3 separate regions of the Homo sapiens genome follow, and all the other regions are linked to region 3. The links are contacts of gene promoters, found by promoter capture Hi-C in blood cells and fetal thymus (Javierre and others, 2016). All regions are on one chromosome and are shown on one strand. Each heading gives the region's core, a stretch centred on a gene start or on the middle of the fragment in contact. The rest is flanking DNA. Distances are from core to core; before and after follow the strand shown.

The links. Contacts are between HindIII fragments. The CHiCAGO score rates a contact against its expected background, and 5 or more counts as called.
Region 1: a contact is called between a fragment that was not itself captured here and the fragment with the promoter of THPO in region 3, in 3 of 17 cell types (M2 macrophages, naive CD4 T cells and M1 macrophages). The highest score is 6.2, in M2 macrophages.
Region 2: a fragment that was not itself captured here is called in contact with the fragment with the promoter of THPO in region 3 in 2 of 17 cell types (megakaryocytes and M1 macrophages); the score reaches 5.2 in megakaryocytes.

The regions. Positions count from the first base shown.
Region 1 is chr3:184,729,801-184,732,754 of GRCh38, reverse strand. All of the region lies in intron 2 of LOC107986163 (a long non-coding RNA gene), which reads right to left. Among named protein-coding and RNA genes, the nearest start is that of MAGEF1, 19 kb to the right of the region's middle. The HindIII fragment of the contact is 1,081 bases long and covers 972-2,052 here.
Region 2 is chr3:184,745,948-184,748,825 of GRCh38, reverse strand. No RefSeq gene overlaps it. Among named protein-coding and RNA genes, the nearest start is that of LINC02069, 26 kb to the left of the region's middle. RefSeq lists an enhancer at 2,156-2,657. The HindIII fragment of the contact is 7,396 bases long and covers 1-2,878 here.
Region 3 is chr3:184,376,913-184,379,728 of GRCh38, reverse strand. THPO (thrombopoietin) reads left to right here and starts at 1,522. Exons shown (of 6, transcript NM_000460.4): 1 at 1,522-1,654. The HindIII fragment of the contact is 10,240 bases long and covers 1-2,816 here.

The sequences.
Region 1 (2,954 bases), core at 263-2,762, 350 kb before region 3:
ATAGTGTGAAAAGGAAATGGCTGCTCAATCACCATCTTTCTTTTTGTAGCCAGAACAAACTCTCAATAAACATGTTACCTTTGGCTTTTTAAAGTGGCAGTCCCATTGGAAGCAAAGGACTTACAAGACAAGGTCCTCGACAGGAACAAAAGAGTCACCCCCACCAACGCTCTTGCCAGAAATGAGCTGAAATTCTTGGAGAAGTCTCGGAGCCAAAATTCTCAGGGAGAAGTCCCAGAAGACTGCCCATCAGGCGAGGAAATGTAGGGAAAATGTAATGTGTAAAATGATGAGCTGGAGAACCATCAACGAGACTGCACTGAGCTATGTCTTAATGAGGCGAACTCCAAAGACGCTTTTCCTTTAATCTGGCATTTGAAACGAAACACTGCTAAGACGCCCCCACCTCACCCACCCCACCCTCATGCGTTGCCATGACTACTCAAGTTCTTAGACCATGAAAGAACAACCTCAGCATTTTCCTCTGCAACAAAAGAAAATTATTCCAGGTTTCTAGGTAAAGAACTCCAAGGAATGGGACCTGTTACTGGATAGCAGGTTCTTCAGAATTGCTAGGGATGAAATCTGAGCCTACAGGGACCACAGCTGTCTGAAAAGCCAGTGGAAGGAAACTGAGGGTGACAGGGCCCCCACTCTCACCCAAGCTCACACAGCCCATGCTCTGTCACCATGGCTGGTTCCCTCCCCTCAGCTGGACCTCATTTGCTCCTGCAATGAAGCAAGTTAAAAGAAAACACATCCCCTGTCCATATGGGAAGGGGCAGGGGGTGGGAGAGAGCAGGTCCCGGCTCAGTAGGTCCCAGGGTGGCAGCAAAAGGTGACTTCGCCTGCTCTCTAGTTTGGCGTGCTCTCGAGACAACCAAGGGAGGCCAACCTGTGGCATGGCTAGGAAGCCCCTCCAAGACCCCCTTGAAAGCCTGAGGTCCTGCTAATGAGGGCCAATCTAAGCTTTCTCCCAAATCCAGAAAGCAAAATCGAGGAAGCAACAGCTGGACAGGCAACCTGCTCCCTCACGCTCCCTCCTGAGCCTGAGCTTCAAGTGGAAACCCAGACACTGCTCTCGACGTCTCCCTTTCCTTCATCCTCCACATTCAATCCTTCATCGCCTTTTGAGACTACTTCCTAAACATTTCTCAAATCAATCCACCTCTTTCTCCATCGCCATTGTCTTGGTTCAGGCCTCACCATCTCTAGTCTGAAGTGTTCCTCCAGACCACGTCCACACTAGGGCGAGAGTGATCATTTCAGAACACAAATCTGATCAGGTCACCTCCTGCCAAAAATGCTTCAGTGGCTCCCATCGCCTTTGGGATAAATTTTCACATTCGTTAGAAAGACATGCAAGGCCTTTCATGATGGACGCCCCCATTCCTACTCACTCTACTCCAGACATAAAGAAAACATTTCCCCAACTTACACATTCTTGTGTAAGAATGGGGCCTTCACAAATTGTTCTCCTCTTCTTAGAAAGGCCTTCCCTGACCCAGCATGCTGGATATCTTCTGCTTACCACGCCAGATCCACTCTCCAGCCTGCTCTGTGCCCCAAAGTCTGCCCTGTATAGATCACATCAATCAGCTCCAGTGCCCTCTGGCTCCTGGTTGGGTTTGGCCAATGGGGACCACCAGCAAGAGTTTGGAAGACAGGAAAGAATGAGGTCAAGGCAATTGATTCCCTCCTTGTAAGGTTGCATCAGGCTGGCTGATTCCCTAGAGGGAAGCTGACCTGAATGACACGACTCTCCCTCTTTCCAGGGTACAGGCTGCCCCTCTCCCATGTCTTCTGGCCTAGGGGTGGAAACAGCTCTGCTGCCACTGACCCTGAGTTTCTGTACTATCTTGTGTTGTTCTCCCACACTCTGCCTAAACCTTTGCAAATAACCTCTTTGTGCATAAACCCTCATCAAATCATCCTAACTTAAGGGGGCCTGTTCCCTTTTAGGACCCTGACCAATGCACTCATCCTTTGCCTTTGCCAAATCATAGCCATTCCTTGGGACTACACTCAGGCATCCCCTCCTCCAGGAAAGCTTCCCTATTCACCCCAGGCTGGTTCAGCTGCCCTTCCCCGTGGGCTCCCAGAGCTTCTGTATGCTCCTGTTGCAGCTCTTCCCACACTACTGCAAAAGCCAGTCATTTGTACTAAATCTGAGTCTGCAGAGGGTGACTGAAGTTGAGTATCTTTTGTGGGTCTGAGGGGAAGGTTTGGAATGGGGTAGAGTGAGGAGTCTGGCTTCTGCTGAGGGATGGCCCCCCAAGTCACCTCCAGGAAGGGTATATGGTTTAGTTGAGGAAGAAAGCACCTGAGATCAGTGTGGGATGGGACAATGTGTCGTTGCTCATCCCTGCACCCCAGAATCTGGCACAAAGCAGGCCTTCAGAAAACATTTGCTGAGTGAAGGAAAGAAAAAGTTGTAGCTCAGAGTGAGACCCTGCCAGAGACCCACGGGGAAAAAGTGCAGCATCCCTTTGTGGTTGTCAGTTGTAGGAGCTGGTGTTCCTCAGACCAGGACACAGGGGGTCAGTCAGATCACAGACCAAAGGGCCAGAGGAAAGGCTGTTATTTGAAGAAGACCCCCGCCGGGAGCGGTGGCTCACACCTGTAATCCCAGCACTTTGGGAGGCCGAGGCAGGCGGATCATGAGGTCAGGAGATCGAGACCATCCTGGATAACACGGTGAAACCCCATCTCTACTAAAAATACAAAAAATTAGCCAGATGTGGTGGTGGGCACCTGTAGTCCCAGCTACTCGGGAGGCTGAGGCAGGAGAATGGCATGAACCCGGGAGGAGGAGCTTGCAGTGAGCCGAGATCGCACCACTGCACTCCAACCTGGGTGACAGAGCAAGACACTGTCTCAGAAAAAATAAAAAAATAAAAAATAATAAAAATAATACAATAAAAAAGACCCCCAACTCCAGGACATGAAAACCA
Region 2 (2,878 bases), core at 330-2,829, 370 kb before region 3:
GTGTGTGCATGTGCACCCCAGCAGCCACACATATTCACACCTGCGCATCCCTAAGCTGCTGTTTCTGACTCTCAACTTGTCTCTTCTCACCTGCAGGGGGAGAGGGAGAACCATGAGGCTGAGTCCCAGCCCTTGCTTTCCTACCCAGCCCCTTTTCCATCCAGTGTTCATATTGCTGCCGCTTCATGTACTTTACACTCCTGGCTACCCTTCTCTAGCATGCTTTGTGCTGCCTAATAAGTCGAGGGTGGTTAGAAAAAAAATCCCACCACTGTTTCTTCCTTTCCAAAGAAGGCTGTCCACTTACTTCTGTTTTGACTGATTCAAAACTGACTGATGTAATTCCCTTCTGCTTTGACAAATGGGGACCTCAGCAAAGAAGGAAATAGAGCCAGAGTGAAAAGAGAAGGGGTCAGGGGCTTTCTGGAGATTTATGAAGTTCCCATTCGAGCACAGGCAGCTGGACAGCTCTCCTCCTTGTGCAGGCCTTGAGTTTCAGAAAAACACAAGACTCTGAGACGCGCCTTCACTTGAGTCATTTGGGTGGAGTTGGTGTGTTTATCTGTGCTATCTTCCCATTTTCCTCTCCTTCTAGAGTTGAGAACAGTGAGTGGTGAGCGGCAATGTCTGCTTTCTTCTATTCTTGGGGTCCAGGACACTGGGGCAAGATGTAGAGAGATCATCCTTCAGTTCTCAAATCCCATTCTAACCCCCTTTCCCCACCCCCGGGTTTAGAGTTTTAATTTACTCTGTATTAATGACAATCTGGAGGGGAAAATGTGTAGGAAATTGATAGACTAGATCAGCCATGGTGGCTCAAGCCTGTAATCCCAGCACTTTGAGAGGCTGAGGCGGGTGGATCACCTGAGGTCAGAAGTTTGAGACCAACCTGGCCAACATGGTGAAACCCCATCTCTACTAAAAATACAAAATTAGCCGGGAGTGGTGGCACGTGCCTATAGTCCCAGCTACTCGGGAGGCTGAGGCAGAAGAATCACTTGAACCTGGGAGGCAGAGTTACAGTGAGCCGAGATCGTGCCATTGCACTCCAGCCTGGGCGACAAGAGCAAAACTTTGTCTTGAAAAAAAAAAAAAAGAAATTGATAGACTAGATTGTAATACAGCATGAATAACTCAACCATGCAAATTAACACAGGCTCACAAGCCTAGGCCTGAAAGAATCAGACCACTTATTTGCTTCTATTATTAAATAAGAATTTGCTTAATAATAGAAAATAATAATAATTTAAAATAAGGCCTATGGCCTTGTAACACCAGTGGTCTGCCAGAGACTGGATTGGTGTGACCTGAAGATACACTGTAAAGTGAAATATTCAATCAGACAAACCTTAGGAGTTTGCTTGTGTGCCTCCTTAACGTACACAGCCAAAAAACAGATTCTATTCACTTTCTCTTTTTTTTGAGACCAAGTGTCACTCTGCCACCTAGGCTGGAGTGTAGTGGCGCAATCTCCCCTCACTGCAACCTCCGCCTCCCAGGTTCAAGCAATTCTCCTGCCTCAGCCTCTAGAGTAGCTGGGATTATAAGCATGCACAGCCACGCCCAGCTAATTTTTATATTTTTAGTAGAGACGGGGTTTCACCATGTTGGCCAGGCTGATCTTGAACTCCTGACCTCAGGTGATCCAACCGCCTCAGCTTCCCAAAGGGCTGGGATTACAGGCATGAACCACCGCACCCGGCCTCATCTTCTTTTTAAATACTTCACTGAAAAAAGGTCTCAGTGTACTAAATTAATGGAAATGTTGGCTCTGTGCAGATAAGTGGTTTCCATCCTTTGGAGGCTGGCCTCCTTCTGTTTGTCTGAGCTCAGGTCTCAATGGGCATGGTGCCTGATGCCGAGTTAAGTGTCCAGCAGCCCCTGCCCCAGCCAAGCAGGGAGGCCGGGTGAGGTGGTCCCCCTAGTGGGGCACCAATGGGCTAAGGTAGGTGGCAGGAATGTCTCTTACCATGATCACAGGCCCTTTGAAGGGAGGGAAGAACCTACTGAGTTGAGAGTAGGTGTGTGCATCGAGTTCAGCAAATCGACAAAGCAGGTTCCAGTGCATTACTGGAGTAGGAGAATCTGAAGTTGCATCAAGGCCAGAGTGTGGAGCCAGGGAGTCATACAGCTGAGGACATTCTCCCCTGGCCTGGCCCTTATGCCCTAGACGCATGCCCTGCCTGTGGCCAGAAGAGCTGCGCACAAGGCACTGCCTGCTCATCCGTTCAGTGTCCATGGCTCTGTTCTGCCCCAGATACGGGCTCCCTCTTGGCCCCAGGCGCTCTCCAGTACATCCTTCCTGGCTTGTCCTACCTAGACTTGGGCACTGGTTCTATCTCTGCTTCATGACTGTCTTGGAAATCCCATTAGTCTCAGCCATCAAGAATTGCCCCTCTCCCCAGGTGCCAAAACCTACCTTGGTCCCTGCAGCTGCACCTGACTCAGGGGCCTGGAACACCATAGCATTCCAGACTCCTGGCCTGGGGGGTGGAATGGGGAGGTGGCGTGAAGAAGGGGTGGGAACTAGAAAATAAGAGACTGGGTTGAAGTGGACAAGGAGGAGAACAATTTGCGTGGGTATTACAAAGACAGCTAAAAATATTCTCCCTGGGTGCTCGGGGTGGGGAGTGGGCTGAGTGCTTTACAGGCCCCGCGGTAGCAAGATTGCAACATTCAATTCATTTCCAGTACCCCTGGGGATAAACTGAGAACCCCTGCTGTCAACCCCAATGATGTGGCCTCAGCCTGATTCTTTGGCTTTCAGGTATGACCTCTAAGGAATGACAGAAGGGTTGTTTAAGTGGAGAAAAATGTTTTCAAACTCCAAGCAGTGTGCTAAAGCACTTTTTTTGTCCATTCTACTTTTGCTCCAAGA
Region 3 (2,816 bases), core at 273-2,772:
GTGTCCAGCCCAGGAAGGGAGCCTCAGGCTAGGGAGGGGCAGAGGCTAGGCCTGAGGCCTGGACCGCTCTGTGAGCGAGGACCCGGTTCCGCCCGAAGGATGAAGACTTGTCTTTAAAGATGACAACGTACAGGAAAGGTCCATCAGCCGATCTCCCCCTGCCTGGGCCCACAGCGCCCCCCAAACCCTCACCACCCTCTCTCACTGCCTAGCCTGCCTCCCTACCTTCTCTCTGAGGTCGCTCCTCATTCTTGTGTTACCCAGGACAGGGACCTAGCCAGAAACCGGCAGCATTCCCCCTTCTGTGGAGTGACAGTATCTCCCTCTCATTGTAACTTATCCTCAGGCGCATTCGACAGTCCCCTCTTGCTTTCTCACCCCCTTCCTTCACCCAAGGGACCCTCTGCCTCTCCAGCCCACTCCCAGCCTCCTTTCTCTTGGTTCCCTGGTCATGCCTGCCTCCCTGTCTCCTGTCTCTCCCTCCCACACACACCCACTATCCTCCCAGCTATCCCAGCACCCTCCTTCCTAATCTTGGGAGACATCTCGTCTGGCTGGACGGGAAAATTCCAGGATCTAGGCCACACTTCTCAGCAGACATGCCCATCCTTGGGGAGGAGGAACAGGAGAGAGCCTGAGGAAGTTCTGGGGGACAGGGGGATGATGGGATCAAGGTCAGGCCAGGAAGCCCCTGAGGACAGAGACTGTGGGGAGACTGGGACTGGGAAGAAAGCAAAGGAGCTAGAGCCAGGGCCAAAGGAAAAGGGGGGCCAGCAGGGAGGTATTTGCGGGGGAGGTCCAGCAGCTGTCTTTCCTAAGACAGGGACACATGGGCCTGGTTATTCCTCTTGTCACATGTGGAACGGTAGGAGATGGAAGACGGAGACAGAACAAGCAAAGGAGGGCCCTGGGCACAGAGGTCTGTGTGTGTAGCCATCTAAGCCACTGGACCCCAGCAGACGAGCACCTAAGCTCAGGCTTAACCCAGTGCACGTGTGCGCACATACATGTGCCCCGCACCTGACAGTCCACTCAACCCGTCCAAACCCTTTCCCCATAACACCAACCCATAACAGGAGATTTCTCTCATGTGGGCAATATCCGTGTTCCCACTTCGAAAGGGGGAATGACAAGATAGGACTCCCTAGGGGATTACAGAAAGAAAAGCAGGAAAGCAAGCATCCTGTTGGATTTCAGCAGCAGGTATGATGTCCAGGGAAAAGAAATTTGGATAGCCAGGGAGTGAAAACCCCACCAATCTTAAACAAGACCTCTGTGCTTCTTCCCCAGCAACACAAATGTCCTGCCAGATTCCTCCTGGAAAAAAACTTCTGCTCCTGTCCCCCTCCAGGTCCCAGGTTGCCCATGTCCAGGAAAAGATGGATCCCCCTATCCAAATCTTCTCCGTGGTGTGTGTGGGTGGAGGAGTGGACCCTGGTCCAGGCAGGGGCTCCAGGGAAGAGAAGGCGTCACTTCCGGGGGCCTTCACCAGTGTCTGGTGGCTCCCTTCTCTGATTGGGCAGAAGTGGCCCAGGCAGGCGTATGACCTGCTGCTGTGGAGGGGCTGTGCCCCACCGCCACATGTCTTCCTACCCATCTGCTCCCCAGAGGGCTGCCTGCTGTGCACTTGGGTCCTGGAGCCCTTCTCCACCCGGTGAGTGGCCAGCAGGGTGTGGGGTTATGTGAGGGTAGAAAGGACAGCAAAGAGAAATGGGCTCCCAGCTGGGGGAGGGGCAGGCAAACTGGAACCTACAGGCACTGACCTTTGTCGAGAAGAGTGTAGCCTTCCCAGAATGGGAGGAGCAGGGCAGAGCAGGGGTAGGGGGTGGGGTGCTGGTTTCTGAGGGACTGATCACTTACTTGGTGGAATACAGCACAGCCCTGGCTGGCCCTAAGGAAAGGGGACATGAGCCCAGGGAGAAAATAAGAGAGGGAGCTGCACTTAGGGCTTAGCAAACACAGTAGTAAGATGGACACAGCCCCAATCCCCATTCTTAGCTGGTCATTCCTCGTTAGCTTAAGGTTCTGAATCTGGTGCTGGGGAAGCTGGGCCAGGCAAGCCAGGGCGCAAGGAGAGGGTAATGGGAGGAGGGCCCACTCATGTTGACAGACCTACAGGAAATCCCAATATTGAATCAGGTGCAAGCCTCTTTGCACAACTTGTGAAAGGAGGAGGAAGCCATGTGGGGGGTCCTGTGAAGGAACCGGAAGGGGTTCTGCCAAGGGGGCAGGGAGGCAGGTGTGAGCTATGAGACAGATATGTTAGTGGGCGCCTAAGACAAGGTAAGCCCCTAAGGTGGGCATCACCCAGCAGGTGCCCGTTCCTGGGCAGCTGGTCTCAGGAAGGAAGTCCCAGAACTGTTAGCCCATCTCTTGGCCTCAGATAATGGAGTATTTCAGGACTTGGAGTCCAGAGAAAAGCTCCAGTGGCTTTATGTGTGGGGGTAGATAGGGAAAGAATAGAGGTTAATTTCTCCCATACCGCCTTTTAATCCTGACCTCTAGTGGTCCCAGTTACAGCTTTGTGCAGTTCCCCTCCCCAGCCCCACTCCCCACCGCAGAAGTTACCCCTCAACATATTGCGCCCGTTTGCCAGTTCCTCACCCAGGCCCTGCATCCCATTTTCCACTCTCTTCTCCAGGCTGAAGCCACAATACTTTCCTTCTCTATCCCCATCCCAGATTTTCTCTGACCTAACAACCAAGGTTGCTCAGAATTTAAGGCTAATTAAGATATGTGTGTATACATATCATGTCCTGCTGCTCTCAGCAGGGGTAGGTGGCACCAAATCCATGTCCGATTCACTGAGGAGTCCT